Regions from separate parts of the Homo sapiens genome. Here regions 1 and 3 are each linked to region 2. The links are contacts of gene promoters, found by promoter capture Hi-C in blood cells and fetal thymus (Javierre and others, 2016). All regions are on one chromosome and are shown on one strand. The core of a region is centred on a gene start or on the middle of the fragment in contact, and the rest is flanking DNA. Distances in the headings are between cores, read along the strand shown.

Region 1 (3,410 bases), core at 51-2,550, 160 kb before region 2:
CCTACTCTGGCCATATCTGACCTCATCTAATCTCTAATCTCTCCCTAGAACCATCCTTTCCTGGCTGGGCGCGGTGGCTCCCACCTGTAATCCCAGCACTTCGGGAGGCCGAGGCGGGTGGATCACTTGAGGCCAGAAGTTTGAGACCAGCCAGGCCAACGTGGTGAAACCTCATCTCTACTAAAAATACAAAAATACAAAAATTAGCCAGGTGTGGTGGCAGGTGTCTGTAATCCCAGTGACTCGGGAGACTGAGGCAGGAGAATCGCTTGAGCCTGGTAGTTGGAGGTTGCAGTGAGCGGAGACAGCACCACCACACTCCAGCATGGGAAAACAGAGCAAGACTCTGTCTCAGAAAAAAAAAGAAAAAAAAAAAAAGAAGAAAAACTATCCTTTCTGGCAGCCTTTTTGCTGGTCTTCGAACAGGACAGGTATGCTTCTGCCTCCAAGTTCTTTTTATTCATGATGCCTCTATTAGATCTTTCTTCCAATATCATCCTCTTACTGAAGCCTTCCCTAACCATCCTATTTAAAATTGGACATCTGCCCACCACTCCCTGCGACTTCCACATTGCATCTCCCCTTCTCTATTCTATTTTTCTGTAATACTTATCACCATCTGACACAGCATATATTTTACTTAACTATTTCTCTTCTCTGCTTGACCTCATAGTTCCCACAAACATACATGATGTGGACAAGGACTTTTGTCTGTTTTGTCTGGTCTGACATCCCCAGCATCTAGAATAGGGCCTTTCAGTAATGACTGCTCAAATATTTGTTGAATAAATAATTTTATTTTTTATATTATATTATTTTATTTTAGAGATGGAGTGTCACTCACTCTGTTGCCCAGGCTGGAGTGCAGTGGTGCTTACTACAACCTCTGCCTCCCGGCTTTGACCGATTCTTCTGCTTCAGCCTCCTGAATAGCTGGGATTACAGGCGCGCCACCATGCCTGACTAATTTTTGTATTTTTAGTCGGGATGGGGTTTCACCACGTTGGCCAGGCTGGTCTCAAACTCCTGGCTCAAGTGATCTGCCTGCCTTGGCCTCCCAAAGTGCTGGGATTACAGGCATAAGCCACTGCATTCAGCCTGGATAAGTAATTTTAAAAATGAATCAGTGAATGAGTCTCAAGGGGAAGCAGCTATGCTAAGCATGACCTGCTTCCTTCCTTTGAACACTAGTCAGGAGACTCACAAGATACTCTAGTGAAAACCGTTCCACATGGGAATCTGAGGGTTGGGGAATAAGTATTCCCCTAAAAAATGATGAGGAAAAATTTATCACAAAATATCTTTTCAAATCAGACCAGTGTTGTTCTTTAAGATTGCAGAAGTGGAAAAAAGATTAGCTTCATGCAAAATCTCTCAGGAGAAGAATAAAACTAGGGTTTTAAAAATTGAGTCAGAGAAAGAAAGAAAATGATTTGTGTTAGGAAATACCTTTCAGAAAAATCTAAACAATCCTCCTTTGGTCATTAAGGCTGGGGTAAGAGACCAAAAATTAATCATTTGATTAAAGAATAAAATTCCCAGATCTTGAAGACTAAAATATAAAAGGAGAATATTTATGGTAAGAAAGAAGAAATAGAAGTGAGTGAGATTTTATGAACTGGACAAGTAAAAGGTAGCTTTTCATACAGAGGTCCTTGAAAAGTTCCAGAGCCTTTAGTTCCTTAAAGATAAACTCTTGGAAGGAATAAAACATAAAAGAAGAAATAAAACTATTTGCGGTGGCAAAGGTAACAGTAGATTTATTTGTCTCACAACTCTCTCTAGTTTGTGGTTACATGCACATTTTTAGCTCTGCCATTGTGATTATTCCTCTCAGAACCTCAACTGGGCCAGGCATGGTGGCTCACACTTATAGTCCCAGCTACTTGGGAGGCTGAGGCAGGAGAATTGCTTGAGCCAAGCAGGTTGAGGCTGCAGTGAGCTGTGATCGTGCCACTGCACTCCAGCCTGGGCAACAAAATTAAACCCCATCTCAAAAACAAAAAACAACAACAACCAAAACAAAACAAATACAAAAACCCTCAAATGTCATCCTAGAGAGAAATTAAGCCTCACATCAAACCCCAGGTTGACAAACCATGCTTGCTTCCAAACCCAGAAAGCTGCCAGAAGTTAAAGATGATCAGGTTTTATTAGATTATCTTGGAGGCAAGATTATAATGAAAAATACTTAAGAAGTATTTTTTGGCTGGGCGCGATGGCTCACGCCTGTAATCTCAGGATTTTCGGAGGCCTAGGCAGACGGATCACAAGGTCAGGCGATCGAGACCATGCTGGCTAACACAGTGAAATCCTGTTTCTACTAAAAATACAAAAAATTAGCTGGGTGTGGTGGCGGGCGCCTGTAGTCCCAGCTACTTGGGAGGCTGAGGCAGGAGAATGGCGTGAACCTGGAAGGTGGAGCTTGCAGTGAGCCGAGATTGCGCCACTGCACTCCAGCCTGGGTGACACAGCAAGACTTTGTCTCAAAAAAAAAAAAAAAAAAAAAAGAAGTAATTCTTAGGTCATTCATAAAATTACATTAAACAATGTGCTTCAAATAAAGAAAGCTGAAAGTGTTAACTCTGTAGGAGTGAGACTATGGATAGTATTTAGCATGATTGTGTGTTAGGGATAATTTATTTTTATATTTATTTATTTATTATTTTTTGAGACGGATTCTTGCTCTGTCACCCAGGCTGGAGCGCAGTGGCGTGATCTTGGCTCACTGCAACTTTCACCTCCTGTACTCAAGCAATTCTCCTATCTCAGCCTCCCAAGTAGCTGGGATTACAGATGCCACCATCATGCCCAGTTAATTTTTGTATTTTTAGTAGAGACAGGGTTTCACCACGTTGGCCAGGCTGGTATCCAACTCCTGACCTCAAATGATCCACCTGCCTCGGCCTCCCAAAGTTCTGGGATTATAGGCGTGAGCCATCGTGCCTGGCCTATTTATTTATTATTTATTTTGAGACAGGTTCTTGCTCTATTGCCCAGGCTGGAGTGCAGTGGTGCAATCATGGCTCACTGCAGCCTTGACCTCCTGGGCTCAATCAATTCTCCTGCCTCAGCCTGGGGCTACAGGTGTGTACTACCACGCCCAGCTAATTTTTAAATTTTTTGTAGAGTGGGAAATCTCCCTATGTTTTCCAGGCTGGTCTTGAACTTCTGGCCTCAAGTGATCCTCCCATCTCAGCCTCTCAGAGTGCTGGGATTATAGGTGTCAGCCACCACAGCTGACTGATAATTTACTTTTATATAGTATATCTCAACTGATGGCTGTTTACCTTCCCTTCATGATAGCTCAATTTAGAGGGAGTTTATTTCCATATATTATGTATTGGGCTGTCACCTAACGCAATGGTTCTAGATAGCCCTGGCATCTCTCAGGGGAGAAGAGAGCCAGG
Region 2 (3,232 bases), core at 512-3,011:
GGGGAGAGGTGAGGAACTCTATGAGAAACATGCAGTCTTTTATCACGTCATCAGTTTTCAGTGAGAAAATCCAGACCTTCTTACTTTTACAGAGATAGAATTCAGTTCTCAGGGACTTGTGAAGATGCAGCATCATCAAATCATTGTGTGTGTGTGTGTGTGTGTGTGTTGTGTTTTCCTTATCATCCACCTTAGAAAATATTCTCCACATTCCCATGTTAAAATATTTTTTCCTAAAATCCATCCATCCACATGCCAACATCCTAAAGACAGTAATATAGGTTCATTGCAGAGGATTTGGAAAATACAGAATTGTGACCAGAACAAACTAAACTGCATCCATAATTTTATCATCGAATTTGATCAACATTTTGGTGAATAGCCACCAGTCTGTTTTCTATCTTTTTAGGGAATATAAGTTCCAAGAGGCAGGGATGTCATTCACTTCTGTGACTCAGTGCTCTGAATCAGGCCCAGTGAAGACTGACGTGCAGCCTGTATTGGCAGAATGAATGAATAAATACTACACACGCATATTTTGAATTGAAATAAGTTGTCAGGGTGCAGCAGAGAATAACAGAAATAGAATTGCTTGGATGTGCTGACCTAGATCCAAGCTGCTACTGGTAACGTACTGTATCTCCTTGAATAAGTCACTTCACCTCTCTGGGCCTGAGCTGCTTCTTCAGTAAAATAATCCTTGTAGCTAAGATTTGTTGAGCGCTCACTATGCACACTGCCATGAGCCCCTATATGTGTATTTCTCATCATAGCTCTATGAGTTACATACCTGCCATCTCCATTTTATGCATGAGAAAATAGGCATGGAGAAGTTAAGTGGTTTGCCTAAAGTCACACAGCAAATTTGTGGAGAGCTGGGCTTGAACTCAGGCATCTGGGCTTTTACTCTCTCCAGTGGAATGCCTGGGCTGTGGGATGAGATGACTTCACAGGCCTCTCCCAGCTCCAGAGTTGAGAGAGAGAGAGGAGTGGTGCAGGGAGGTAGTAGGGATGATTATGCTACTGGCCAAGTTCAAGAAAGTCAATTGTAGAACAAGGTCCAGCTGATTATTACAGAGAGCAAAGTTCTTAACTAGAGGACTTCCTCCTGGAATGTGGAGAGTCCACACGGGCACTAGCAGAGCATAATGAAAGACCAGGAATTCTCTGCTGTTCAATCAGTGCTCCATCACTCAGAGGCAGGGCTGCAAGAGCTCCTAGTGTGTCCCCTTCGCCTTCAGGGCCTCCCTGTACAGCCACCCACAGGACAGTGCACCAGGGTCAGGCAGGGAAGTAAATAAAAAAAGGAATCTGATAATTCCTGACAGTGAGCAGCAGCTGATGCTTTTAATGGGGGAGGAAGACTGGGAATCTCGCTTGATGATGACCTAGGACTTCAGTCAGCAGGACACTGGCCCCTTTCCTCCCCCTCCCAGGCTGAAACCTTGTGTTTTGCCTTATGTCCATGGTAACCAAGTCTCCTTTTTGGTGAGGAGGAATGGGCTTCAGTAAACAGATCTATTTGTGTGATCCTGTTACTCATTTGAAGCAATGTCCCTCCTTTTTTCCACTGTGGTCTGTGTGTCTGAGTCAGAGAGAGCCTACAACAGGGTTCTTTGAATTGATGGCTCACTCCCAGCCACTCTTGACTGACTGCCAGCTTAGCAGGGCGTAGCTTACCAACAAATCTTTTTTTTTTTTTTAAAGCCAGACTGATTCATAGAAACTCCTTTAAAACACGGTGAAAAGAAACCGCCCATTACACACCCCAGTACACCAGCAGAGGAAACTTATAACCTCGGGAGGCAGGTCCTTCCCCTCAGTGCGGTCACATACTTCCAGAAGAGCGGACCAGGGCTGCTGCCAGCACCTGCCACTCAGAGCGCCTCTGTCGCTGGGACCCTTCAGGTAGGACAGCTCCCAACGCTGTGGGGACTCTCAGCAAAACTTCTCCTTCCTTTCCACGGCTCTGCTTCTTCTGACCTCATCTTAGTTTTGCTTTTTCTTTTCTTCCTTCGCTATTTTTCTATGATCCTCTAAGAACCAAGTCCTTGAAACTTTTGGCTCAAAGTGGATACAGAGACAACTTTTTCTAGAAAGTTCAGAAAAGTGTATTTTGAGGACGGAGTCTGGGGAAATCAATGGGATGGGGCTAAAATCGTGCCTGGCAGTGACCGGGTTCTTGTTCTAGGATGTGGAGGGAGCAGGGACTTTGAAACAAACTGGGATAGGATCCTGTTTATGGAGGAAACACCACACACCTTGGAAATGACATCGGGAACTGGCCAGATGTTTTTCACCTCCTCCGTTTTGATTCCGATTGCTTCAGGACTTGAACTGTTACTCTGCTCGCTGGTTGTTGGTTGGGATTTTTTGGGTGGTGGTGGATAGATAACTGGTTTTCAGTTTATTTTTGACATTGCTTTTCCTGCCTGTTTGCTTCCCTATTCACTTCTGTTTAAATTTAAGTATTTTTTTTCTCCTCACAGGATGGGAAGAGGGGGATTGGTTTGTTTAAAGAAAACTGTTGGCCGGGCACGGTGGCTCATGCCTGTAATCCTAGCACTTTGGGAGGCTGAGGCGGGCGGATCACCTGAGGTCAGGAGTTCAAGACAAGCCTGGCCAACATGGTGAAACCCTGTCTCTACTAAAATACAAAAAGTAGCCAGGCATGATGGCAGGTGCCTGTAATTCTAGCTACTTGGTAGGCTGAGACGGGAGAATTGCTTGAATCCGGGAGATGGTGGTTGCAGTGAACTGAGATTGCGCCACTACACTCCAGCCTGGGCAGCTGAGTGAGACTCTGTCTCAAAAAGGAAAAAAAAGAAAAAGAAAAAAAATGAAAAAAGAAAACTGTTAGAGAGAGAAAGAGAGGGAGGCAAATGGTGTTTTAAATGAAACGTGGGAGGGGTTCACTTGGTCGAAGCAGGAGCTGATGAGGATTCCAGATGCCTTCTCTTGGCCAGATGTGGAGGGCGGGGGAGGCAAAAGGGAAGCTGGGTTTGGAGAAGAGGGTGGGGCAGGAGAACTTCATCTGTGCCTGTTAAAAATTGTTGAGTGGCTTTGTGCTTTCACCCCAGAAAGAGCTGCCTTTCAGTGCTGAGTGAAAAGATGGCATACCAGAAACGATAAAAGAACTTTTAAAAGAAAGTGGATGTGGAATTTCTTTGCATGGAAGGCAGTGATTGTTTTGAAATGCTTATCTTTTCTCTTGTTCCCGAAATGTGATTGT
Region 3 (2,992 bases), core at 464-2,963, 190 kb before region 2:
AAGTGGAATTTCGACATGGATTATGGACTTCTTCCAACTCCCATTGACATTGCTTCTTACCACACATGGGGAAGGGCTGCCTTTCCTGAAAGGGGAAGAAGGCACTGTCCTTTCAGACAAAGTTTGTACAAATTCCTGAACTGCAGATTTGCTAATGTGACCGCGTATACTTATATTCATAATTTAAGTGATTGTTTATGGTCAGATACATATTGTTAAACTTGAAAATGTTTTATTACATTACATCAAATAAAGTCTATTTGTAGCTGAAAAAACTAAAAATAATAAAAAGGAGGAAACTGAGGCTTAAAACAATTAAGTAACTTTCCCAGGCAACAACTAATGTGTGGCTTGGTGAGGATTTGAACTCATGTCTGTGTTGTCAGCGTCCATAATGCTTTGTACTCTGTCACCCTGGCTTTTCCGACCTGTATCTACATCTACATATGGCACTGCTTTCCAAATACTTTCTAAATGTCCAGCTTCCCCCTTGGACTCACTCCTTGAAACTGACTTCTCTGAAAGTGTCCCTCAAACACTGTGTCCATGAACACTGTGTGGTCCTGTCTGAACTCTCTTGTCATCTCATTTGTTCTAATATTCTGCCTACTTGAGGATTCTCTTTTCTTTTTTTTGATACAGGATCTCACTCTGTTGCCCAGGCTGGAGTGCAGTGGCATGAGCTTGGCTCACTGCAGCTTCGAACTCCCTGGCTCAAGTGCTCATCCCACCTTAGCCTCCCAAGTAGCTGGGACTGCAGGTGCACACCTAATTTTTCTATTTTTTGTAGAGACAAGGTTTCTCCATGTTGCCCAGGCTGGTCTCAAACTCCTGGGCTCAAGCAATTCGTCCAACTTGGCCTGTCGAAGTGCTGGGATTACAGGTGTGAGCCACTTTGCCCAGCCTATTTTTCTTTTTTTGAGAGAGGATCTTGCTCTGTCACCCAGGCTGGGGAGCAGTGGTGCGATCATGGCTCACTGCAGCCTAGAACTCCTGGGCTCAAGTGATCCTGCCACCTCAGCCTCCTGACTACCTGGGACTACAGGTGTGCACCACTACTGCCAGTGAATTTTTAATACATTTTTGCAGAGAAGGGAATCTCACTATGTTACCCATGCTGGTCTCAAACTCCTGCCTCAGTTGATCCTCCTCCATCCGCCTCCCAAAGTGGTTAAATTAAGCCAACCTGCCTGGCCTTTATGAGGATTCTTTATGCATGTTTTACCCATTGGTTGCATTGTCATTTGAAATTGTTAACCTAATTGTCAGACTAATTTGTGGCAGCTGCCCTAAACCAGAGCTGAGGGATTGCCTGCTGTGCTTTCCTCCTGAGCAAGGGGAAGTTGAGCCGGAGCCAGGTAGTGGCAATCAATAATAGTGGTACTGTTGACCTCTAGCTTTGTGGTAAAAGATATTAACTTTATTAACTCCAGACAAAAAATATTTGCCCTTTGACAAATATTTGTTCATTGCTATAAAGTAAATTGCCATTTAATTATTTCATAGTTCCTTGACTCTAAGATGCTATTGATTATAAGACAGGCCCTGTTATTTTATGTGCCACCAAGAAAAAAAACAAATGCTACTAAGTAAACTATGACATTCAATTGATTTTAAATGCATCCAGAGACATTAAAATGTGAAATAGCATGCAGCTTGGAGTTCATAAGAGATTCTTAGGTTGCTTTGTAAGGGTCTCTTGAGTATTTTTGCTCACAACCATACCTCCTTTATAACAAACTAATCTTTTAAAAGGCAAGATCTATTTTTCTTTAGCACTTCCCTCACTAGCCACACACAGAGGATGCTCAGTAAGTGTGGAATGATTTAAAACATTCTTGATATTAGAGCTAGTCATCTATTTTAGTTACTAAACTATATACAGTGCAATGGGCTCTATTACTCAGTATGGTCAAGTAGCGGAAGTATTTGGGAATCAGAAAACATCGGGTCAAAAGATGGGGATTCCAATCTGGCTCTGTCCTACCAGTGTAATGAATATTTCTTCTGCAAATTTCCTAACCTCTGCAGAACTCACTTTCTTTCTTTTTTTAAATTTAGAGACAGGGTCTTGCTATGTTGCCCATGTTGGTCTCAAACTCCTTGGCTCAAGTGATCTTCCCACCTCGGCCTCCCACAGTGCTGGGATTACAGGTGTGAGCCACTGCACCTGGCCTCAGAACTCACTTTCTACATCTGCAACACTGGGGTAATAATGCCAGCTCACAGTGCTGTCGGGAGGATTAAAGGAGTCCAGGCAATAAAAAGCACTGTATACACTGTTAAGGGCTAGATTCTCCCCACACCAGTGGTCAAGTTTGTCCTGCTACCAAGGGCTGAACATTGCTGCTTCAAGAGCATTGTGGGGAAGCATCATTTTAAAGTCCAGATTATTTGGTGTCTTGCCTTTTTTTTTTTTTTTTTTTTGAGATGGAATCTTGCTCTGTCTCCCAGGCACGATCTCGGCTTACTGCAAACTCAGCCTCCCAGGTTCAAGTGATTCTCCTGCCTCAGCCTCCCAAGTAGCTGGGATTATAGGCGCATGCCTCCCAAGTAGCTGGGATTACAGGCGCACACCCAGCTAATTTTTGTATTTTTAGTAGAGACAGGGTTTCACCATGTTGGCCAGGCTGGTCTCGAACTCCTGACCTCAGGTGATCTGCCCGCCTCAGCCTCCCAAAGTGCTGGGATAATAGGCATGAGTCACCATGCCCAGCTATTTGGTGTCTTTCTTTATCTGAAGAATTTGGTATGCTGTGAGACATTTTCCTTTGCAATTTATTAGGTATTATGATTGAATACTGTTGAGTGTGTATAAACTGAAAGAAAAATTCTAAGCCCCCCACTCGACTGAATGGACCCCTCGTCTCAGCCAATGGAATTCCAAAGAAACCTGAAAAACTAGTTCAGGCCATGATGGGAAGTGGGGGTCCCATCATGCCTCATTATACCTTCCTCCTTTTGGAATTCAGGCACAACTGACCAGTATTAA

Evidence for each region. Contacts are between HindIII fragments. The CHiCAGO score rates a contact against its expected background, and 5 or more counts as called.
Region 1: a contact is called between a fragment that was not itself captured here and the fragment with the promoter of EMP1 in region 2, in 3 of 17 cell types (megakaryocytes, monocytes and endothelial precursors). The highest score is 7.4, in megakaryocytes.
Region 3: a fragment that was not itself captured here is called in contact with the fragment with the promoter of EMP1 in region 2 in 4 of 17 cell types (monocytes, megakaryocytes, M2 macrophages and 1 more); the score reaches 7.2 in monocytes.

What each region holds. Positions count from the first base shown.
Region 1 is chr12:13,032,530-13,035,939 of GRCh38, forward strand. No RefSeq gene overlaps it. Among named protein-coding and RNA genes, the nearest start is that of FAM234B, 10 kb to the right of the region's middle. The HindIII fragment of the contact is 5,242 bases long and covers 1-3,410 here.
Region 2 is chr12:13,194,965-13,198,196 of GRCh38, forward strand. It overlaps EMP1 (epithelial membrane protein 1), which reads left to right and starts at 1,762. Exons shown (of 5, transcript NM_001423.3): 1 at 1,762-1,908. The HindIII fragment of the contact is 10,564 bases long and covers 1-3,232 here.
Region 3 is chr12:13,004,516-13,007,507 of GRCh38, forward strand. The region is part of intron 2 of GPRC5D-AS1 (GPRC5D and HEBP1 antisense RNA 1); the gene reads left to right. It also overlaps the pseudogene HTR7P1. Among named protein-coding and RNA genes, the nearest start is that of HEBP1, 5.7 kb to the left of the region's middle. The HindIII fragment of the contact is 5,436 bases long and covers 1-2,992 here.